7 separate regions of the Homo sapiens genome follow, and all the other regions are linked to region 1. The links are contacts of gene promoters, found by promoter capture Hi-C in human tissues and cell types (Jung and others, 2019). All regions are on one chromosome and are shown on one strand. The core of a region is centred on a gene start or on the middle of the fragment in contact, and the rest is flanking DNA. Distances in the headings are between cores, read along the strand shown. Region 1 holds the start of LRRC8A (leucine rich repeat containing 8 VRAC subunit A). Region 2 holds the start of CERCAM (cerebral endothelial cell adhesion molecule). Region 3 has its middle 17 kb from the start of ODF2. Region 4 holds the start of ODF2 (outer dense fiber of sperm tails 2). Region 5 overlaps ODF2 (outer dense fiber of sperm tails 2). Region 6 overlaps ODF2 (outer dense fiber of sperm tails 2). Region 7 overlaps GLE1 (GLE1 RNA export mediator).

Region 1 (3,134 bases), core at 462-2,961:
CAGCCCCATGCCTGGCTAATTTTTTGTATTTTTAGTAGAGACAAGGTTTCACTATGTTGGCCAGGCTGGTCTCGAACTCCTGACCTCGTGATCTGCCCGCTTCAGCCTCCCAACGTGCTGGGATTACAGGCGTGAGCCACCACGCCCGGCCCTGCACCCCCTGCTCTGTACCCTATGGTCCCTAGAACGCAGAGGGCATCAGACCCCATGCCAAAGCCCTGAGACCAGGAAAACAAGGAAGCAGAGACCAGCCACCCAGTCACTCATCCCTGGCATGTCCACAACAGCCTCCTCCAGCACAGGTCATCTGTCCTTGCCTCACTTCATGAGCCAGAGGAAGACTTGACCTTCATGGAAGCAACACCAGTGAGACTGAGCAATCAGCACTGCCCAGTCTCTCTGAACAAACTCCCACTCCCACATCCCCTCCACAGGAAGTATCAGCAACAGCCGATCTCCTCCCGCTTCTTACAGCCTGTCTGTCTGCCAGGTTGTCTGCTCCAAAGGGCAGAATACAGTTTGGCAGGGGTTAAGAGTACTACTAACAGAAGAGGTGGAAGAGGTCCTTGGGAACTTCGGGCTCCCCCAGTTCCCTTCCTCTTACCAGGTGCTCTCCCTCCACACCTCATTCTCAAAAGGCTTCCTGAGGTAGGGCAGGGGAAGAGGAGTCAGTGGAAGTGTGGCTCACCCAGGAACCGCCCACCCTTCCAGCCAAGTCTCCATCAGGAGGCGGCTACCAGACAACCCCCGACCCATCCCTCCTTCCCAAAAAAGGCAACAATCGCAACAGCTGAGAACCGGCAGACCTCGGTTCACCCCGGTCCAGATCAAGGGGAAGAAGCAGTCAGCGAAAGCAGCAGAATCATCATGAACTCCATGACCCCAGCTATGCCCCTTCAGCCTGGGAGCTCAGTTTGCTGGGTATCCAGCTCACCTAGGGCTGCACCAGGCCTGGACCTCACTGGATCTCGCCTCGCCCTCGGGCCCACCTGAATGCACAGGACTGGGACAGGGTCTGGGTTCTTAGATTCCGGACCGGTCTTCCCAAATATCCCATCCCAGAAAGGCCCCAAGAGCCTAGCCGGGGATCCTGCCCCCAAGTCAGGGCACTGCCCCCATCGGAACGATAGGAAGGAGGGGTGCAAGGGAAGAGAAGGGGACCAGGAACTCAGGAGAAGACAGCTAAGGAAATCTTTGAAAAAGAAATGGCAAGGAGAGAGCCCAGAGGTGGAACCTCTAGGAACGGGAGAGTGTGTGTGGAGGGGTGAGGATCTGGGGGGACCCAGGGGATGACAAGGGGACATGGGGGAGCCGAGGCGGAAACTCCTGGTTTCTGAAGCACAAGGAGGCACAGGGGTGCCTGGGAGGGGGCTCGCGCGCCGCGGAGCCGGCGAGAAGGTGGTGCCCCGGAGACTCCGGGCACTGGGGAGCCCAGAGGTAGGCCGAACACCGCGGGAGGTCCCCAGGGGGCCGGCCCGGAGACAGAGCCCCAGATGCCCCGGGCGCCCCGGGCCGGGCAGCTGGCCGAGGGCGTGTGTAAGTGGGTTTCGAGAGGTGACAGCTCGCGCCCCTTTCCCCACCCCGTCCACTCACCTGGGCTCGCCGCGCCCGGCCGCCCGGCAGGCAGCCCCAGGCCCCGGCCGCTCCGTCCCGCCGCCGGCCGCAGCGCTGCTCCGGCGCCTCCTTTTGTTTGTCCCTCACTGCACCACTCAGCCTCCTCCGCCCCGGAAGTGACGTCACCGCCGGGCGCGAACGCGGCGGCCAGGGCGTCGCCATCTTTATGAGGAGAATTCTAGCGGCGCTTTCTCCCGCTCTCGCCTCCGCGCTAGCGCCCTGCTGCTTCGGGGCGGAAGTAGCGGAGCCGGGCTCGGCCCCCTTAAAGGGACAGGGACTGCTGCAACCTACGGGGTGTACTTGGGAACGAGGGGTGAAGCGGCCCAGGTGAGGGTGAGTAGCTGTGTCGGAGCGCCACTTCCCCAAGGTCAGGTGCCGAGGCTGGGAGGGTCGGCTAACGGTTCCGAGCTTGGTTGTGCTAGAGTGCTTAATGAGTTTGATGCTACTAAGTATAACGGAGTGGCTGCACAGAATGATTGAGCCGCCCGCGGGAATCAACTGCGCGTGCTGCTCGCTGATTCTCGCTCGGACACTGGGGCTGGTCCTGTCTGCACCCAAATCCCCCTCCCACGACCGCGCCGGTGGAGATGATACCCGAGACAACAGAATTCTGGACAGATCTGGGGTTGGAATTGGGTCCCCAGACTCCAACTCTGCAGCTCCATAAATCCCGCTGGGTCCTCGCAAATTCCCTGGCTGATAACAGTACCGGCAACCAAATTAAAAAATAATCCATACAGTGGAATACTGTGCAGCCATTAAGACGAACAATGTTTAATATGCACTAATGTAGGGTGACTTCTAAGATACCTTAGGTTAAAAAAGGAAACAACAGTAAAAACAGCGTTGGGCCGGTTGCGGTGGCTCACGTCTGTAATCCCAGCACTTTGGGAGGCCGAGGCGGGCGGATCACGAGGTCAGGAGATCGAGACCATCCTGGCTAACTTGGTGAAACCTCATCTCTACTAAAAATACAAAAAAATCAGCCGGGCGTGGTGGTGGGCGCCTGTAGTCCCAGCTACTCTGGAGGCTGAGGCAGGAGAATGGCATGAACTCGGGAGGTGGAGCTTGCAGTGAGCCGAGATCGCGCCGCTGCACTCCAGCCTGGGCGACAGAGCGAGACTCCGTCTAAAAAAAGAAAAAACAGCGTTGATGGGTGCTATCCATCTTTGCGTAGAAGGACGCCTGAGGGTGGGCGTATCTGCGGGTGTGCGCGCCAGCTGTCTGATAAGATGCACAAGAAGTTGTTAATTGCGGTTGTCTCCGACAGAATTGGGGTCTTGGGTACCTGGGCCAGGGCGAGAAATTTACTACCATGTGCACAGATAGATAATTAAAAATAAGATGATGAAGATAGTCGTGGCTCCCATCCATCACGTGTTAAGCCAATGCCTAGTTTCACTTCTGTTGGGAGGTCTTATTTTTCCCTTTTAATAGAAGAGAAAAGAACCTTAGAGAGGTTAGGAAACTTAGCAATATCATAGCCAGGGCCGGGCGCGGTGGTTCACACCTGTAATCCC
Region 2 (3,134 bases), core at 552-3,051, 460 kb after region 1:
TTTCTCTGGGCTTCACGTCCTCCCTCTATAACTTAAGCTGTCCTGCTTATGTCATGGACAAAGATAAGAGAAGAATAATGCATTTTTTTTGAGATGGAATCTTGCTCTGTCGCCCAGGCTGTAGTGCAGTGGTATGATCTCGACTCACTGCAACCTCCGCCTCCCGGGTTCAAGTGATTCTCCTGCCTCAGCCTCCTGAGTACCTGGGATTACAGGTGTGCACCACCATGCCCGGCTAATTTTTGTTTGTTTAGTAGAGATGGGGTTTCACCATGTTAGCCAGGCTGGTCTTGAACTCCTCACCTCAGGTGATCTGCCCACTTCGGCCTCCCAAAGTGCTGAAATTACAGGCGTGAGCCACCACACCTGGCCAACGAATGCATTTTGAAAGATGAAAAGTACCTCGACTTTAAGGATCACACCTGGTGCATTCCCTGGTTACCTTCGTTAGGTGGGCAGATACCTACCTATGTGACCTGTGGCTGTGTGACCACAGGCCAGCCCCTGTCCCTCTCTGAATGGGGACTAGACAGAAGAGCTGCTGCTTTCCTCCACCCCCAGGTTGTAATAAGGACCAAACCATGCTCTAAGCGTCCCTAAGAATGCAGATGGGTCCAAGCTCTGCTGTCATGGGGCACAGCCTCCCCTCTCCTGGGGAAGGGGCCCCCATAACAGAGGTGGGGGTTTAGCCAAGTGCCCAGGTTTTGGGTGATGCTGCCCCTTTAAGCCAATTCCCCAGAAATGAAGACTACGTGTCAAGTCTTACAGGGGTGGGAACTAACAAACTCCCAAACTGTGGTAATTGTGGGCGGCCTCCCCAGGCCAGGGCTCCACCCCCCCAGCCCAACTGTGGTGTGTTGAAGAGGGTGGCTTGTCATTTTTCTCAGTTTACCCCCAACCTCAGCCAGGGACTCCTCCCTGTTCTGGTGTCTACAGACCAGGGGTTGTGGCCTTCGATCCCAGTGCCCTGGGGGTACAGAGATGCCAGAGGGGAGAGGCTCCAGGAAGGGGGACTGCCCTTGGCTGACAGGATCCCGCCCCTCTACCAAGATCTACCAAGAGAGCTGGCCCCAGCACGGGGGCGGTGGGGGGGCCGGTCTGACTCCCCTGCACAGCCCGGAGCCCAGTGCTGATGGCACCCCCAACCTGTGCCCGGAAGCCTCCAGCGTGGTCGATCCCTGCCACGTTGGGCCCCAGTGGACTTCAGAGGTTCCTGTCTGCTCCTCTTCAAATCCAGCCAACCACAGGTCCCACTGGGGTTGAGCTGGGCCCTGAAGGCTGGGGTGAAAAGGGCTGGCTGGGCCCAACCTACACCCAGGGAAGGCCCCAAGAGGAAGGAGTAGGGGACCAGAAGGAGGGGTGGGTGTCCCGCGTCGGCCTGTGGCCTCAGAGGTCTGTCGTCTCCCAGCAGGGGGCTCGGGGTCCTCTCTGGCGGCTCGGGCTGGCAGGGCCGTCTGTGAGGGGAGGGGCCTGTCTAGGTGGTGTCTGGGCAGGGAGCGAGCAGACAGGGCCGCCGGGGGCGGGGGCCATCTGCGAAGCTGGGGGTTAGGTGCCCACTCGGTGCCAATGCCCGGGTCTCTCACCAGAGGGCCATCCTGGCCCGGGGGTAGTCCAGCCGCTCCAGAGCGCCCAGGTAGTGGGGCAGCGAGTGTTCGGCATTGCGGGCCAGGATGGCAAGGACCACGGCGGGCAGCGGCGACTCCGCAACGCCCGCAGCCTCCAGCCACGGCCCCAGCAGGAGCAGCAGCTGGAGCAGCGGCGCGGCGCGGGCAGCGCGCATGGCGGGCGCTTGGGCGGCTGCAGCGGCCCCCGGAGCTCTCGGGCCGGCCGAGGGGAGGGGGCGGGGCCTGGGGCCCGGGCGGGGCCGAGGCAGACCCGGAGAGGGCGGGGCAGTGCACCCTCAGAGTGGGATCCTGCTCCCCACCCCTGTGCGTGGATGCTCAAGTTTTCTCTCCTTGGCCCGGGGCACCGGAGGGCCAGGGCCCGGGGACCCGCGCCAGCCGCGACCCTGGAGCAGCCCCGCCCGGCTGGACCCCGGAGGGGCGACGGCGGAGGGGCCGGAGGACCGGACAGGGGAGGGGTGCTAGGACGAGTGCGTCGGGGCCGGCCGGGCGTCCGAGAACAGTAGGGGCTCATGGAACCCCTGGGCGTTGAACCCCCGGAATCCGGATTCCCCGGCCCACGCAGCCGACTCTTCGACCTGAGCCGCAGACCCAGAGGGGCGGCGCCCACTCGGCCACCACCTCCCGGGCTTCCCCGGCTCCCGCCCCATCCTCCGCCCCGGGCGCCCTCTGGCGGCCCTGGCGCTAGCTCCGCAGACCAGCCGGGCCACGCGTGGGCCGGAGACCCAGCGTGGGGGGCGCAGAGGGAGTCCCCCTGAGCTGGGCGCGTCCTCCCGCGGCGGTCCGCTCCTTAAGTCCCCTGTGCGTCACCTCCTTGCGTCGGTCGCCAGCACCCGCATTGCTTCGGCCCTTTAAGAGAGCACAGCCAGGCCGGGCGTGGTAGCTCACGCCTGTAATCCCGGCACTTTGGGAGACCGAGGCGGGAGGATCACCTGAGATCAGTTCAAGACCAGCCTGGCCAAGATGGTGAAATCCCATCTGTACTAAAAATACAAAAATTAGCCGGGCGTCGTGGCGGGTGCCTGTACTCCCAGCTACTTGGGAGGCTGAGGCAGGAGAATCGCTTGAACCCGGGAGGCGGAGGTTGCAGTGAGCCGAGATCGCGCCACTGCACTACAGCCTGGATGACAGACCGAGACTCCGTCTCAAAAAGAAAAAAAAAAAAAGAGCACAGCCCTCACAGCCCTCTCTTGGTCTGAGTGTAGAACTAGGGGACACCACGGAGCTGCTCACTGCGACCCGACCCGTCCGTCCTCCAAAGCAGGGGATGTTGGCTCCCCTGGAGCACCGCCGGGGTCCTTAGGACCCTGCTGGGAGGGAAAGAACTCTGCAGCCTCTCGGGAGAGGAGCAGAAAAGGGAGCGGCCTGGCGGCACCACAGATGGGATCGAACTGGGTGTCTGTCACCAACCTCAGACAGGTCCCTTTCCCTCAGGAGCCTCTCGGGTAAAATCGGGCTGATAACGCCACCCATCTGGGAGGGTTTGCAGGGATTCCTCGAGAGAATGAATGC
Region 3 (3,134 bases), core at 160-2,659, 440 kb after region 1:
ACGCATAAGCCACCACGCCCAGCCATGCTTGAATTATTACAGTGGGTTCCTAACTGGTCTCACTGTTTCTTCCATGGACCTGCCTACAGTTTATTCTCAGCACAGTAGCCGGTGTGATCTTATAACACTACATGAGATCATGCCACATCTCTGCCAGGGTGATCATGTAAAAATGTAAGTTAGATGGTTACTTCTTTGCCTCCATCTCTCTGGGGGCTCCATCTCAGAGTAAAAGCCAAAATGGCCTTCATGGCCATCCCTGCTCTGGCCCCAGCCTTGGCTCTATCAACTCTAGACACTGGTCCTCCTCTCTTCTGCACTGTCAGTCCTGCTTCTGCCTCAGGACCTTTGCATATGCTGTTCCTTCTGCTTGGAAGCTCTTCCTTTTGCTATCCCCAAGGCTCAGCCCCTCCCCTCCTTAAAGTCTTTTTTTTTTTTTTTTTTGTCTATTTTTTTTTTTTTTTTGAGACGGAGTCTCACTCTGTCACCCAGGCTGGAGTGCAGTGGTTTGATCTCGGCTCACTGCAACCTCTGCCTCCCAGGTTCAAGCAATTCTCTTCCTCAGCCTCCCACGTAGCTGGGACTACAGGCGCCCACCACCACACCTGGCTAATTTTTGTATTTTTAGTAGAGACGGGGTTTCACCCTCTTGGCCAGGCTGGTCTTGAACTCCTGACCTCGTGATCCACCTGCCTCGCCCTCCCAAAATGGTGGGATTACAGGTGTGAGCCACCCTGCCTGGCGAAGTCTTTTGTTTTTGAGATGGAGTCTCACTCTGTCGCCCAAGCTGGAGTGCAGTGGTGCAAGCTCAGCTCACTGCAACCTCCACCTCCCAGGTTCAAGTGATTCTCCTGCTTCAGTCTCCCGAGTAGCTGGCATTACAGGCGCCCGCTAGCACACCTGACTAATTTTTGTATTTTTAATAGAGATGGGATTTCCCTATGTTGGCCAGGCTGGTCTCAAACTCCTGGCCTCCAGTGATCCATCTGCTTAGGCCTTCCAAAGTGCTAGGATTACAGGCATGAGCAACTATGCCTGGCCCACTCCTGCGTCTTTGTTCAGGTGTTAACTTCTCAGATCTTACTTTGTATCTCTCCGCTTCTCATTTTTCTCTATAGCAATTCACACCCTCTGATCTTTCTTTGTTTTTGTCTGCATCCCTCATTAGGATGTCAGTTTTGGCCGGGTGTGGTGACAGAAGGTGATAGAGTGAGACTCCGCCACAAAAAAAAAAGAAAAAAAAGAATGTCAGTTTAATGAGGTCAGGGGTTTTGTCAGTTTCATTCACTGCTGAATCCCCAGGGCCTGACTGCGGCCCATGGGAGGTGCTTAATAAAGGTTAACAAATGAATGAAGGGGACACCTGGAGCCTGGAGAGAAGTGAGTCGCTCAAGGTCATAGCCATCCAGAATGAATGACTTTCATCTTAGAACGAATAAAGCACCGAGTCCACAGCTCCAGCCCAAGGTCCTTCTCACAGCCGTGCCAGGTCCTGGACCTCAACCCCAGGACAGAGCCAAGGGATACCCCAACCTCAGGGAGTGCCTGTCAGGCTCTGCCAGGACTGGAGTGCTCACACAACCAAGTCAGGGGGCCACATGGAAGAGGAGCAGGAACGGTGGAAGCCAAAGCAGCCATGGCCAAGGCCAGGAGCCATCTCCCCTCCCACCCCTCCAGCTGCCTGAGTGCAGGCATGACAGACAGCGGCTGGGCCCAGAAGCCCGACTCTCTGGGGCCAGGGGAGAGGCCTGCAGTTCCCATCAGAAGAGCAGAAGACGCAGAGCTGCTGCGGGTTGCCCCAGCACCAATGGGAGCTTCCCTATGGCCCATGCTTCCTTCCTGGTGTTGGCCCCAACCCAGCAGAGAGCATCCTGGCCAAGTCCAGGCTCTGCCACCTTGCGCCCTCTGGTGGCCACATTGGTTAGTGCCAGAGGGGAACCCAGGATCTCCCCCAGCCCCTCCCAGGCGGTTCCTCTTCCCCTAAGCCAGGGTTTCAGCTGCACAAGAGATGATCCAAAGGGCCGGGGGACATCAGCAGCCCTTGGACTGGCTGGGCCCACCCTGACCAGCAAGGTGAGGCTGGTAATGACTTCGGGGATGACCACATCAGCCCCAACAGGTGAGCACTCACTGTGAGCCGGGCTCAGGCTAGGCCACTCTATACCCAACCAGCCACAATGACCGAAGAGTAGACTAAGGCCCAGGGAAGGGATGGCACCCACCCAAGATCACCCAGCACAGAGGTGATGCTGGATCGGCCTGACTCCTCACCTGTCCTCCCCTCTCTGTCCCTCCAATTGCTCAACCATAGATCAGGAAGCCTCCTCCCAGGCCAGCTGAGATGCAGAGGCTCAGCCATGAGTTAAAAAATATAAAGTAAAAATACAAAAATTAGCTGGGCGTGGTGGCACATGCCTGTAATCCCAGCTACTAGGGAGGCTGAGGAAGGAGAATCGCTTCAACCCAAGAGGCGGAGGCTGCAGTGAGCCGAGATCACACCACTGCACTCCAGCCTGGGTGACAGAGCGAGACTCTGTCTTAAAAACAAACAAATATATATACATGTATATATATGTATGTATACATATATACATGTATATACACGTATGTGTACATATATACACGTATATATACGTGTATATACGTGTGTGTATATACGTGTATATACGTGTGTGTATATACGTGTATATACGTGTGTGTATATACGTGTATATACGTGTGTGTATATACGTGTATATACGTGTGTGTATATACGTGTATATACGTGTGTGTATATACGTGTATATACGTGTATGTGTATATACGTGTATATACGTGTATGTGTATATACGTGTATATACGTGTATGTGTATATACGTGTATATACGTGTATGTGTATATACGTGTATATACACGTATATATGTATATATACGTGTATATATACGTATATACGTGTATATATATGTATATATATAAAGTGGCAGGGTGCAGTGGCTCACGCCTCTCATCCCAGCACTGTGGGAGGCCGAGGTGGATAGATTGTTTGAGCCCAGGAGTTTGAGACCAGCCTGGGCAACATGCAAAACCCAGTCTCTACAAAAAAAAATGTGGCCAGGCATGGTGGCATGTGCCTGTGGTCCAGCTACATGGGAGG
Region 4 (3,134 bases), core at 318-2,817, 430 kb after region 1:
CGATTTTTAAACGTTTTGGTCCAGACTTTCAGCAAACACAATGAGGAAGCTGGAAGCCTCAGGCGAGCCTGCCCTGGGGACCCCTGGCCACCTTTCCCTGCCCTCCGGCGCAGGCGCCTCCCACATCGGCAATACCTGGGGGAGCCGCCTGAGGATGAGGCAGACATGGCTAGGCATCAAAGCCGCAAAGGTGGGCAATTGGGTCAGCAGGCTCTGCTCAGGGGGACCCAGAGGGGCAGGCTTGTCAATGAGCCTCTCAAGGGGCCCGGCATCAAACGTCCTCTCTGAGGGGAGAAGGGTGGAAGCTTTGGGGTTGGCAGTTGGATGAAAACTTGGGAGGCGCTCCTCTACTGTCCAAGTCGCACAGCAACTGTCCTGCCAAAGTAGGGGGAAATAGTAGAGGCTGAGCGACCTGGGGGCAGAGGGGAGGAAGGGGAGGGGACGGGGCAGAACCGCGAGGGAAAGGACCACCGCGCCCGGGTCCCACGCGGAGGACTGCCGGTGGCTACCGGGGGAAACCTGAGGCGCCGGCGGACGTGCGGAGAGGGCGGGTGAGAACCGCTCGGCCCCAAGTGGGCCCCAGAGGGCCAGAACCGCGCAGGGAGCCGCGGGGATGCTGGGGCGGGGCCGGACAACTGTCTCCTAGGAGAAGGGGCGTTACGGAAGAACAGATGCCCGAGAGGACCAATAGTGTTTAAAGGAGGGAGGCGCGGAGGTTGCACGGGCCCCGGGCGCCCCGCCGCGAGGGAAAACCGAACAGAGTTCTGAGCAGGATAGACGCCGGGCTGGGAGGGGGCGGGCGGGACCCCCCCCCGCCGGGCGAGGGCCCTGGCAAGCCGGAGACGGTGCCCGGGGGACAGCGCTGCCTACGGAGGGCGTACAAGTGACTGCCATGTGGAGGCCCGAGGAGAGGACGAGGCGGTCGGGGCGATGCCGCCGACGGGCAGCAGAGCGAGGGAGAGCCTCTGTCGGCGGAGAGAAGGGACGGCCACCCACCAGCAGGCAGGAGGGTACCGGTTTCTGCCCATAGAGAGAAAGGTGAAGCCCTGCCCGCGGGCGGCAGAGGAGGGGCAGAGCCCCGTGGTAGCCAAGAGAGGAAGGAGGCGGCCGACCGCCCGTTAGCGGGAGGAGGAGAGGCCCCGCGCCGGTGGGCGGGGCGGGGGCCCAGGTTCTGACAGGAGGGGGACGAGCGCAACGCGGCGGGGAACCCAGGACCCGACGGCCCCGCGGGGTCGACCGCGCCGGGGGTGCGAAGGCGACGGTCTCGCCCGCGGTGCCCCGGAGGGCGCTGGATCCCGCCTGCCGGCGGCCTCTCACCAGGAGCGACACGGCTGCGCCCAGAAACGCCGCCTTATGAAGTCGTTGAAGTCGGAGGCCAGGGTCGTGCCATGGAGACGCCGCGGCGGATGCAGTCTGGCTCTGGCAGCGGCTCCTCCCCGCTTCCGCCTCCTTTTCCGACACCCGGTCGGCAGCTCGCCCATTGGCCAGTTCAAACCCCCCCGGGAGCCGCTTGGGTTTCGCCATCGAGGCCCAGCCCCTAGCGTCACAGAGATGCCCCGCCCCGCCAGAAGGGCCGCCCACTTCCGGGCCACGCGTCCCGTCACCAAGGAGACGTGCTACGCGTCCAGCGGGCCTGGCCGGGTCTCGCCCCCCATTCAAGGCCTTTCCCGCTCGGCCCTGTTTCCCCTGCCTTGGATCCTCCCGGATTCCCCTCACTCAAAGGAGCGTACGGTTCCGACGCCCTCCCCTCGGTACCCACCAGGAAACTAGGCTCACAGAGGACCCATGGAACTAGTTATTGGGAGCTGCACACTGCCTCCGAAAATCCAGCCCTGCCCCTAGTCCACTATTAATGCGGAGATGGAGTCGGCTTCTGCGCATTCCCCGGCCTCTCCCCTGCCCACATCGCCTCTGTCTTGGCCCCAACAGGAGAAAGGGTCGGCATTCCCCTTGCTGTTCTGTTCACTACCTTCCTGCACTTTTTTTTTTTTTTTTTTTTTTTTTTTTTTTTTTTTTTTTGAGACAGATTCTTGCTCTGTTGCCCAGGCTGGAGTGCAGTGGCGCGATCTCGGCTCACCGCAACCTCCGCCTCCCGGGTTCACGCCATTCTCCTGCCTGAGCCTCCCGAGTAACTGGGACTACTGGCGCCCGCCACAACGCCCGGCTAATTTTTTTTTGTATTTTTAGTAGAGACGGGGTTTCACCGTGTTGGGCAGGATAGTCTCCATCTCCTGACCTCATGATCCACCCGCCTCGGCCTTCCAAAGTGCTTGTATTACAGGCTTGAGCCTCCGCGCCCGGTCTACTACCCTCCTGCACTCTCTATGCCGCTCTGTGTACAGACCTATTCTGATGAGGTCCTTGCTGGTCCGCCATCTTCTCAATTATGCTTCACTGTCAGCCAGTCAGGGGAGGTCTGTCACGTGGCTCATAATGCCGCCCTGGAATCTGGGAGACCTGAACCACCTCCGGGCCAACTGGGCCACAGTCCCTTGACCTTTCTCCAGTGACCCCGCAGCACCTTAGCCACACAGCTCCAGGGTCACACAAGTGTTTCACCTGCAATCCTAAAGTCAGACTCGCAAACAAAACCTGCTTTTCCGCCTCGCTTTCACAGTATACTGCATACTGAATTTGTTCTGTAATGTCAGGGAGCTCCCCAATCCCTTGATCCATTCATTGTCTCTCTGTTGAATAATTGATAGATTTCCTAATCCTCATTAACCATTTAAGACTGCGGTGGCTCACGCCTGTAGTCCCAGCACTTTGGGAGGCTGAGGCAGGCGGATCACCTAAGGTCAGAAGTTCAAGACCAGACTGCCCAACATAGCGAAACCCCGTCTCTACTAAAAATACAAAAATTAACCGGGCATGGTGGTGTGTGCCTGTAATCCCAGCTACTAGGGAGGAGGAGGCAGGGAGAATTCCTTGAACCTGGAAGGCGGAGGTTGCAGTGAGCCAAAATCACCACTACACTTCAGCCTGGGTGACAGAGTGAGACTCTTGTCTCAAAAAAAAAAAAAAAAAAAAAAAAGTATATACAGGTTCAAGGAAAAGAGGACAGGAAAAGGAGGTCCCGGTCCTCCTGGGGCAGGCAGGAGATGGTTCCCAGAGGTGATGGTATTGGAACTGAG
Region 5 (3,134 bases), core at 422-2,921, 400 kb after region 1:
CTTGTTCACCCTCTTTCCCTCTCAGACCCACAGATCCCCTTCATAAGCCCAGAGAAAAGGGCTCTCTGGTTCCCAAAGTTTCCTGGGCACCTAGGAACTGATAAAAGACAGTATTATGGTTTCTCTGGCAACAAGAGGCAAAGAACCTGGGACAGAAGGCTTGGCCACGGATGCAGAACCTGAGGCTGTTCTCACTGCCCTCCAGGCCTCCCCTGGGGCACTGAAACCACTGACCAACTCTTCTGCCATCCTATGTGCATGAACTCACCAAAGCCCCCTACTCTAAGAGCCATGCACTATCACTACCCCCATCTCAGAGGAGGAGACTAAGGCTGGGAGAAGTGAAGGCAAGTGAGGCCACACAGCTGGAAGGGGTAGTACTGGGCCCTGGAGCCGACTCGGACTCCAGAACCAGAGCAGTTCCCCACCACACTGAGCACTACCCAGCAAGCACCGAGATGGTGAGGGAGCCCTGAGCACAGATGGGCACCAAGGAGCTGAGCCTGGACAAAGCACAAAACACCACTTTTGGGTGGGAATTCAAATTAGCTGACCCTTCATCTCCAATTGAAGATGGGACTCCAGGATGACAGAAGCTAAGAAACCAAAAAAGGAGAAAACTGGCTAGAGCAAGAGGCTTTTTTTTTTTTTCCTTTTTGAGATGGAGTCTCACTCTGTCACCCAGGCTGGAGTGCAGTGGCATGATCTTGGCTCACTGTAACCTCTGCCTCCCGGGTTCAAGCGATTCTCCTGCCTCAGCCTCCTGAGTAACTGGGACTACAGGAGCGTACCGCCATGCCAGCTCATTTTTTTGTATTTTAGTAGAGATGGGATTTCACCGTGTTGCCCAGGCTGGTCTCAAATTCCTGAGCTCAGGCAATCTGCCCACCTCGGCCTCCCAAAGTGCTAGGATCACAGGCGTGAGCCGCCATGCCTGGCTTTCTTTCCTTTTTGAGATAGTGTCTGGCTCTGTCATCCAGGCTGGAGTGCAACAATTTCAGAAGCCGAGGCAGACAGATCACTTGAGGTCAGGCGTTCAAGACCAGCCTGGCCAACACAGCAAAACCCTATCTTTACTAAAAATACAAAAAATTAGCCAGGTGTGGTGATGCACACCTGTAATCCCAGCTACTCAGGAAGTTGAGGCAGGAGAATCGCTTGAACCCAGGAGGTAGAGGCTGCAGTGAGCTGAGATTGTGCCACTTCAGCCTGGGTGACAGAGTGAGACTCTGTATCAAAACAAACAAAAAAATTAATAAAGCTTCCCTCTGAGGGGAGGGAGACAAGGTTATTGCAAAATGACACACAAAAGGGAATCAACTATGTAGACACTTATTTTAAAAGCTGGGCGGTGAGTGGCCGGGCACAATGGCTCACCCCTGTAATCCCAGCACTTTGGGAGGCTGAGGCGGGTGGATTACCTGAGGTCAGGAGTTTGAGACCAGGCTGGACAACATGGTGAAACCCCGTCTCAACTAAAAATACAAAAATTAGCCGGGAGTGGCACCTGTAATCCCAGCTGCTTGGGAGGCTGAGGCAGGAGAATCTCTTGAACCCGTGAGGGGAAGGTTGCAGTGAGCTGAGATTGCGCCACTGCACTCCAGCCTCGGTGACAGAGCGAGACTCCGTCTCAAAAAAAAAGAAAAAAAAAAGCTGGGCAGTGAGGATACCACTTTACATTACTTGTTATATATATATATAATTTTTTGGGGGGACAGTCTAACTCTGTCACTCAGCCTGAGTGAGTGACACAATCTCAGCTCACTGTAGCCTTGACCTCCAGGGCTCAAGCAATCCTCCCACCTCAGCCTCCCGAGTAGCTAGGACTATAGGTGTGTGCCACCACACCTGGCTAAATTTAAAATGTTTTGTACAGATGAAGTCTCACTGTGTTGCCCCGGCTGGTCTCAAACTCCTGGCCTCAAGCAATTCTCCCACCTCGGCCTCCCAGAGTGTGGGAATTACAGGCGTGAGCCACCACACTTGGCCTTATTTTATATATTAACAGGTTTTTTTTTTTTTTGAGACAGAGTCTCGCTCTGTCACCCAGGCTGGAGTATAGTGGTGCAATCTAGGCTCACTGCAACTTCCCCCCTCCTGGGTTCAAGCAATTCTCCTGCCTCAGCCTCCCGAGTAGTTGATATTACGGGTACCCATCACATTTTTGTATTTTCAGTAGAGGTGGGGTGTCACCATGTTGGCCAGGCTGGTCTCGAACTCCTGACCTCAAGTGTTCCACCTGCCTTGGCCTCTCAAAGTGCTGGGATTACAGGCATGAGCCACTGCACCCGGCCAATATATTAATTTTTAAAGATAAGGCCGGGCGCGGTGGCTCATGCCTGTAATCCCAGCATTTTGGGAGGCTGAGGTGGGCAGATTGCCTGAGTTTAGGAGTTCGAGACCAGCCTGAGCAACACAGTGAAACCTCATCTCTACTAAAAATACAAAAATTAGCTGGGCATGGTGGCACGCACCTGTAATCCCAGCTACTCAGGAGGCTGAGGCAGGAGAATCACTTGAACTCGGGAGGCCAGAAGTTGCAGTGAGCCGATATCGTGCCACTGCACTCTAGCCTGGGCGACAGAGCAAGACTCTGTCTCAAGAAAAAAAAAAAAGATAAAAACAAGGTTGACAATGTTAAAACAAAACGAAACAAACAAAAAAACAGGGCTTGGTGTGGTGGCTCACGCCTGTAATTACAGCACTTTGGGAGGCCGAGGCAGGTGGATCACCTGAGGTCAGGAGTTCGAGACCAGCCTGACCAATATGATGAAACCCCGTCTCTACTAAAACTACAAAAAGTAGCCCGGTGTGGTGGCATGCACCTGTAATCCCAGCTACTAGGGAGGCTGAGACAGGAAAATCACTTGAACCCAGGAGGTGGAGGTTACAGTGAGCCAAGACTGTGCCATTGCACTCCAGCCTGGGCAAGAGTGAAACTCGGTCTCAAATAAAAAAGCAAAAATAAGAAGAACGTCACCATTTCATTAGCACTGGCATTTTGAGACTATTGTCATCTCTTTGCTTAGAACCAAGCAGGAGACAACCATTTATACTGTCAGTCTTTTCTGCAATATTTGCTAATATATCATCATTCACAATAGCCAAGATACGGAATCAACCTAAGTGTCCAT
Region 6 (3,134 bases), core at 1-2,500, 380 kb after region 1:
TCTGGGCTGCTCGCTCCTTGGAGAGTGCGTGCTCCTTGGTTTGTTCCACCTGCACATTCAAAGGCCCAGACATGAGACTGGTTTACCGGACATGGGGAACACTTGGCAAAGAGAAGGCTGGGCCCACTATCTGGTCTTGCAGACAGCACTTGCACATCATTGTGGACTGTGTTCTCTAGAACGCTGGGGCAGGAACTAACTATGGGGACTATGCCTGCCACCCAGCTTTGCCAGTGCTCCAGGAGTCACCACCTAAGATGTGGTAAGCCTATGTGAGGCTCAAGAGGGTAGTGAGTAAATGAGCAATCATCAGATATCAAGTGCTGAGCCCTCTACGATGAAAATGTGATCCTTACAACTAATTCATGAAGCGGGTACTACTGTGTGCCCATTTTTCAGATGGAGAAATAAGCTGAGAGTTTAGGTGATTTGCCCAAGGTCACAGAGCTAGTCATTCATGAAATCGGGACTGACCTGCCTCCTCGCATCTTCAATGGCACTCTCCAACTGCCTTGCCAGGGTCCCACATTCCCGTGTTTTCTCCTCCAGCCGCAGCTGGGACTGGTGGATTGCCTCCTCCCTCTTGGCAATCACCTGTAGGAACTCGATATTCTGGGCACTGGTCGCCTCCAGTTTCCTAGGTGAAAGCACTCAATCAGATCCTGGGCATACCCCAACCTGTCATGTTCCACCCCGCCAGGGGGCTGCCAGCCTCTCCTGGACTGGGGATCTCATCATGCCAAGAATCTCCAAGGAGCCACAGGAATAAGCCAAAGAAATCTGCAGATCAGCAAGGCGACCAAAGAACTGTGCAGCTGGAGCAACTGGTTAGAGAACAGAGTGAAGGGTGGGAACGCAGAGACTGACCGTGGGCTTTGTTAAGTGTGGATAGCATCACATGGAACACAGCAACTTGCAGCTCAGAAAAATGGTACCATTATTATCCCCACTTCAGAAATGAAGAAACTGAGCCTCAGAGAGGGGAATTCATTGGCCTGAAGTCAGCACAGCTGGCAAGTCTGTAACCAAAACCTAAGCCTGCAACTTCTGCTGTTCACTGCTGCCTCCCACAGCAAAGGGACTTCAGCTACACCACTCAACATCTTGTGTGACCAGCCATAGGGCAAATATGGCCATCCCGATATACACACACTGTCCTCAGTGCACTTCCAGGATGCCTTCCAATTTAAGGAGCTCTGCAGGGCCTGGGGGATCTAGCTGCCATTTCCAAGGCTGGCAGGGCAGAGCAGAGGTGGAGCCTGGAAGGAGCCCACTTGGTTGTAGCCTCCTTGCAAGTGCACTGGCCACCTGAGGCACTTAGGGCCTCCTAGGATGTCAGGCACCTTCACCTCTGAAACTAAGGCTGGGACCAGGGCTGGAGGACTCTTGCCCACCTCTTTTTTTTTGAGATGGAGTCTTGCTCTTTCGCCCAGGCTGGAGTGCAGTGGTGCTATCTCGGCTCAATGCAAGCTCCGCCTCCCGGGTTCACGCCATTCTCCTGCCTCAGCCTTCCGAGTAGCTGGGACTACAGGCGCCCGCCACTGCGCCCGGCTAATTTTATACATATATATATATATATATATATATATATATATATATATATTTTTTTTTTTTTTTTTTTTTTTTAGTAGAGACGGGATTTCACCGTGTTAGCCAGGATGGCCTCGATCTCCTGACCTCGTGATCCGCCCGCCTCGGCCTCCCAAAACGCTGGGATTACAGGCGTGAGACACCACGCCCGGCCTCTTGCCTACCTCTTAGAGATGCTCACAGAAGCTCTCGAGGAAGACAGTCACGGGTCTAAGTCATGCTTTGCCAGGTACCAACAGTGTGATGCTGGGAAAGTCACTTAACTCCTCCCCAAGCTCAGTTTCCTCATATTTAAAACTGGGATAATACCAGCTAACTAATAACATGTTCTAAGCTATACTGAGCGCTTCTCTATGCCAGGTAACATGCTAGGACCTTTACCAGGATTATATCATTGAAGACTCACACCACCACCATGAAAAGATTATTATCAGCCAGGTGTGGTGGCTCCCGCCTGTACTCCCAGCACTCTAGGAGGCCTAGGTGGGTGGATCACTTGAACCCAGGAGTTCAGGACCAGCCTGGGCAACACGGCGAAACCCCATCTCTACAAAAAATACAAAAATTAGCCAGGCATGGTGGCATACGCCTGTAGTCCCAGCTACTTGGGAGGCTGTGGCAGGAGAATTGCTTGAGCCCAGGAGGTCGAGGTTGCAGTGAGCTGAGATTGCACCACTGCACTCCAGCCTGGGTGACAGAGTGACATGATAGATAGATGATAGATAGATAGATAGATAGATAGATAAACTCTACCTTGACCCTTTCCTCAAAAGGAGGAAATTGAGCTTCAAAGGAATTAAATGATTTGCTCAAGATCACAATGCTGGTAAGTGGCAGAGCTGGGCCCCAAGGCCAGGGCTTCTGATTCCCAAAGCCGTACCCTTCACCTCTGACTGCCTCCAACAATCCGTAAATAACAGAGAACGGTCAGATCAGAAAGGTCTTGGGAAGGGTGACTGGCAAGAAAGGGCAGAAAAGAGTGGGGAAGTGCCCCCACCACAGTATACTGGCTGCTCCATTCAAACTGGGCCCTCCTGGCAGGCCTGGACCAGGCATGCCTTTTGGGACAGGTGGTGCCTACAGGTGGGCAGATCCTGATCATGCTGTCATGGAGTGTCTCCCCAGGCTGAGAGGCCCCCTTGCTCTCTCCCACAATGCTTACCACTGAAATGGAAGCAGCTTTTCCTCTGAGGTCTGCCTAGTACCTTCCAGGGCCTCGAGTCCCTCAACACTTCCGCACACTAAGCAAAAAACAGCTAAGTGGCTGAAAGTCTCAGGTCCTAGGAAGAGGACAGAGATGGGACCAAGTGCCTCTAACCTCTCCAGTTCATCCACCTTCAGACTCAGCTGTTTATTTTCCTTCTGGGAAGCCTGATGTTTCTCTCTCGCCATCTCCAGCTTGTCCCCCTGGTGTTCGATCTAAAATGACAGGAACACAGACTGGTTTACAAAGGAATTTCCCGCTAGAGCCCTCCCCTTTCCCTATGACCTGTTGTCCACACCCAGGAAAGGGGCACAGTGCCCTCAGCAGGTGTCCAAGTCTC
Region 7 (3,134 bases), core at 305-2,804, 360 kb after region 1:
ATCCTCTTCAGCTGACAGGATTAAGAGATTAAAGTAAAGACAGGCATAGGAAATCACAAGGGTATTGATTAGGGAAGTGATAAGTGTCCATGAAATCTTTACAATTTATGTTTAGAGATTGCAGTAAAGACAGGCATAAGAAATTATAAAAGTATTAATTTGGGGAACTAATAAATGTCCATGAAATCTTCACAATCCATGTTCTTCTGCCATGGCTTCAGCCAGTCCCTCCATTTGGGGTCCCTGACTTCCCGCAACAGTGCCCAGCTTTTTTTTTTTTTTTTGGAGTCTCGCTCTGTCGCCCAGGCTGGAGTGTAGTGGTGCAATCTTGGCTCACTGCAAACTCCGCCTCCTGGGTTCAAGCGATTCTCCTCCCTCAGCCTCCCAAGTAGCTGGGACTACAGGTGCCTGCCACCATGCCTGGCTAATTTTTGTATTTTTAGTAGAGACGGGGTTTCACTATGTTGGCCAGGCTGGTCTCGAACTCCCGACCTCGTGATCCATCCACCACGGCCTCCCAAAGTGCTGGGATTACCAGTGCAAGCCACCATGTCCAGCTATTTTATTTTTATTTTTTATTTTTTAGAGACGGATTCTCAACTCTGTCACCCAGGCTGGAGTACAGTGGTGCGATTTTGGCTCACTGCAACCTCCACCTCCCAGGTTCGAGTGATTGTCCAGCCTCAGCCTCCTGAGTAGCTGGGATTACAGGCGTGCACCACTATGCCTGCCTAATTTTTGTATTTTTAGTAGAGACAGGGTTTTACTGTGTTGGCCAGGCTGGTGTCAAACTCCTGACCTCAAGTGATCTGCCTGCCTCGGCCTCCGAAAGTGCTGGGATTACAGGTGTGAGCCAACAGGCCCGGCCCTGTGCTGTAATGATTTTAAAACAGATCTGCAAATTGTCTGACAATCCTTCCATACCCTCTACTTCAACCTGAGTGGACTTTATGACTACCGTGACTAACAGAATACGGAAAAAAAAAAAAATAGGCCAGGCACGTGAGTTTTTTTTAAGAAAATGAATAAACTGTCCAGAAACAGCTAATCAGTATGGGAACTAGTATTCCAAAACAATATGCTGGCACTTAGGAAGTCCTAAAGCTTAATAACCTTGTTTCTGATTATTCCCCTTGAATCTCTGATCTGATTACTAGCAATAAGGATCTTTAGATAACTGAGGAATCTCTATATCCTAAAAGGGATCAAGATGAACAAATAAAAAATAATGAATCCAGAAGGACATGTATATCAAGGAACACAAGTGAATCTGAAAAAGAGCTCTGAATATGATAAGAAATGAGAATAAGATGCTCTGAAAAAGGAAGAAGTGGAGAATACAAAAAAACTCATGAAAATTAGACATAATAAATACATATATATTTTTTCAATCAACAGGTGGAGAATAAAATATAGAAATCTTCTAGAAAACAAAACAATAAGACAAAAGGAAAATGAAAGAAAGAATAGGACATATAGAGGATTAACTTAGGCAATGGAGAGGTGAACTAATCAAGGGGAAAAATTTCCAAAGATGCAGGAAATAAATCTTTGAATTAAAACAACTCTGATATGCAGAATTAGTCGTTTCTCACCATCTCCATTGCTACCACCCTACTCTAAGCAACCACCATCTTTCACCCAGATTACAACAATGTTCCAAATATTTTACTTATTTCTCTTGTTTACTTCTGTCTCTTCCCACCACAATATAAGCTCTATGTCTATAATGTTTACTGTTTTATCTAGACCTGGAACAGCATCTAGCACATAGGTGCTCAGCAAATATTTATTGACTCAATGACCAATGAGGCAAGATGTTAGAAGACTTTCATTTTCTTTTTCTTTTTTTTTTTTGAGATAAAGTATTGCCCTGCTGCCCAGGCTAGAGTGCAGTGGCACAATCTTGGCTCACTGCCACCTCTGCCTCCCGGGTTCAAGTGATTCTCCTGCCTCAGCCTCCCCAGTAACTAGTATTATAGGCATGTGCCACCATGCCCGGCTAATTTTTGTATTTTTAGTAGAGATGGGGTTTCGCCATGTTGGCCAGGCCAGTCTGGAACTCCTTATCTCAGGTGATCCACCTGCCTCACCCTCCCAAAGTGCTGGGATTACGGGCATGAGCCTCCGTGCCTGGCCAAGACTTTCATTTTCTAAATTCCTGTACTCTGAAACATTTTTACAAGATCATGCATTGCTTTCCTAATTAAAAAAAAATACATGCTGGGCGCAGTGGCTTATGCCTGTAATCCCAGCACTTTGGGAGGCTGAGGTGGGTGGATCACCTGAGGTCAGGAGTTTGAGACCAGCCTGGCCAACACGGTGAAACCCCGTCTCTACTAAAAAATACAAAAATTAGCCAGGCGTGGTGGCAGGCGCCTGTAATCTCAGCTACTTGGGAGGCTCAGGCAGGAGAATTGCTGGAACCCAGGAGGCGGAGGTTGCAGTGAGCCAAGATTGCACCACTGCACTCCAGCCCGGGCTGACAACAGCAAGACTCTGTCTCAAAAAAACAAAAACAAAAAACAGGCCGGGCACGGTGGCTCATGCCTGTAATCCCAGCACTCTGGGAGGCCGAGGCGGGCAGATCACGAGGTCAGAAGATCAAGACCGTCCTGGCTAACACGGCAAAACCCTGTCTCCACTAAAAATACAAAAAATTAGCTGGGCGTGGTGACAGGCACCTGTAGTCCCAGCTACTTGGGAGGCTGAGGCAAGAGAATAGCATGAACCTGGGAGGCGGAGCTTGCGGTGAGCCGAGATGGTGCCACTGTACTACAGCCTGGGCAACAGAGCAAGACTCCATCTCAAAAACAAAAACAAAAACAAAATACAATCAAATAAATTAATTAAAATAGTGCTGCTATTTTTTCAAGAGGCTAAGGTCCTGACTGGGCATCGTGGCTCATGCCTGTAATCCCAGCACCTTGGGAGGCTGAGGCAGGTGAATCACCTGAGGTCAGGAGTTCGAGACCAGCCTGACCAACATAGTGAAACCCCGTCTCTAGTAAATAGAAAATAAAGTAGCTGGGTGTGGTGGCGCGAGCCTGTAATCCTAGTTACTTGGGAGGCTGAGGCAGGAGAATCACTTGAACCTGGGAGGTGGAGGTTGCAGTGAGCCAAGATTACACCAC

What was found. The method cuts DNA at HindIII sites, captures the fragments that hold promoters and counts their contacts. A contact is called where the count stands out against the background at its distance.
Region 2: a contact is called between the fragment with the promoter of CERCAM here and the fragment with the promoter of LRRC8A in region 1, in 3 of the 25 tissues and cell types used here (dorsolateral prefrontal cortex, lymphoblastoid cells and spleen).
Region 3: a fragment that was not itself captured here is called in contact with the fragment with the promoter of LRRC8A in region 1 in 1 of the 25 tissues and cell types used here (lymphoblastoid cells).
Region 4: the fragment with the promoter of ODF2 here is called in contact with the fragment with the promoter of LRRC8A in region 1 in 8 of the 25 tissues and cell types used here (adrenal gland, dorsolateral prefrontal cortex, heart left ventricle and 5 more).
Region 5: a fragment that was not itself captured here is called in contact with the fragment with the promoter of LRRC8A in region 1 in 2 of the 25 tissues and cell types used here (dorsolateral prefrontal cortex and liver).
Region 6: a fragment that was not itself captured here is called in contact with the fragment with the promoter of LRRC8A in region 1 in 1 of the 25 tissues and cell types used here (dorsolateral prefrontal cortex).
Region 7: a fragment that was not itself captured here is called in contact with the fragment with the promoter of LRRC8A in region 1 in 4 of the 25 tissues and cell types used here (dorsolateral prefrontal cortex, liver, lymphoblastoid cells and 1 more).

Annotation. Positions count from the first base shown.
Region 1 is chr9:128,880,710-128,883,843 of GRCh38, reverse strand. LRRC8A (leucine rich repeat containing 8 VRAC subunit A) reads right to left here and starts at 1,711. Exons shown (of 4, transcript NM_019594.4): 1 at 1,594-1,711. KYAT1-SPOUT1 (KYAT1-SPOUT1 readthrough) reads left to right here and starts at 1,894. Exons shown (of 25, transcript NR_182311.1): 1 at 1,894-1,947. It overlaps KYAT1 (kynurenine aminotransferase 1), which reads left to right and starts at 1,894. Exons shown (of 13, transcript NM_004059.5): 1 at 1,894-1,947. RefSeq lists a silencer at 1,365-1,644 and an enhancer at 1,675-1,824. The HindIII fragment of the contact is 17,929 bases long and covers 1-3,134 here.
Region 2 is chr9:128,419,524-128,422,657 of GRCh38, reverse strand. It overlaps CERCAM (cerebral endothelial cell adhesion molecule), which reads right to left and starts at 1,801. Exons shown (of 13, transcript NM_016174.5): 1 at 1,584-1,801. The coding sequence starts at 1,780. RefSeq lists an enhancer at 1,066-1,255 and a silencer at 1,516-2,415. The HindIII fragment of the contact is 34,497 bases long and covers 1-3,134 here.
Region 3 is chr9:128,437,577-128,440,710 of GRCh38, reverse strand. No RefSeq gene overlaps it. Among named protein-coding and RNA genes, the nearest start is that of ODF2, 17 kb to the left of the region's middle. RefSeq lists a silencer at 1,920-2,093. The HindIII fragment of the contact is 5,750 bases long and covers 1-3,134 here.
Region 4 is chr9:128,454,439-128,457,572 of GRCh38, reverse strand. It overlaps ODF2 (outer dense fiber of sperm tails 2), which reads right to left and starts at 1,567. Exons shown (of 21, transcript NM_001351578.2): 1 at 1,318-1,567. The coding sequence starts at 1,481. RefSeq lists enhancers at 286-1,021, 1,615-1,664, 1,022-1,757, 1,795-1,884, 1,758-2,494 and 1 more and silencers at 415-464, 675-824, 855-954, 1,085-1,394. The HindIII fragment of the contact is 20,941 bases long and covers 1-3,134 here.
Region 5 is chr9:128,476,122-128,479,255 of GRCh38, reverse strand. The region is part of intron 8 of ODF2 (outer dense fiber of sperm tails 2); the gene reads right to left. Among named protein-coding and RNA genes, the nearest start is that of ODF2-AS1, 4.7 kb to the right of the region's middle. The HindIII fragment of the contact is 8,207 bases long and covers 1-3,134 here.
Region 6 is chr9:128,495,916-128,499,049 of GRCh38, reverse strand. It overlaps ODF2 (outer dense fiber of sperm tails 2), which reads right to left. Exons shown (of 21, transcript NM_001351578.2): 18 at 2,909-3,009; 19 at 475-637; 20 at 1-49. Among named protein-coding and RNA genes, the nearest start is that of GLE1, 7.2 kb to the left of the region's middle. RefSeq lists an enhancer at 2,926-3,134. The HindIII fragment of the contact is 9,273 bases long and covers 1-3,134 here.
Region 7 is chr9:128,516,013-128,519,146 of GRCh38, reverse strand. All of the region lies in intron 3 of GLE1 (GLE1 RNA export mediator), which reads right to left. Among named protein-coding and RNA genes, the nearest start is that of GLE1, 13 kb to the right of the region's middle. The HindIII fragment of the contact is 4,090 bases long and covers 1-3,134 here.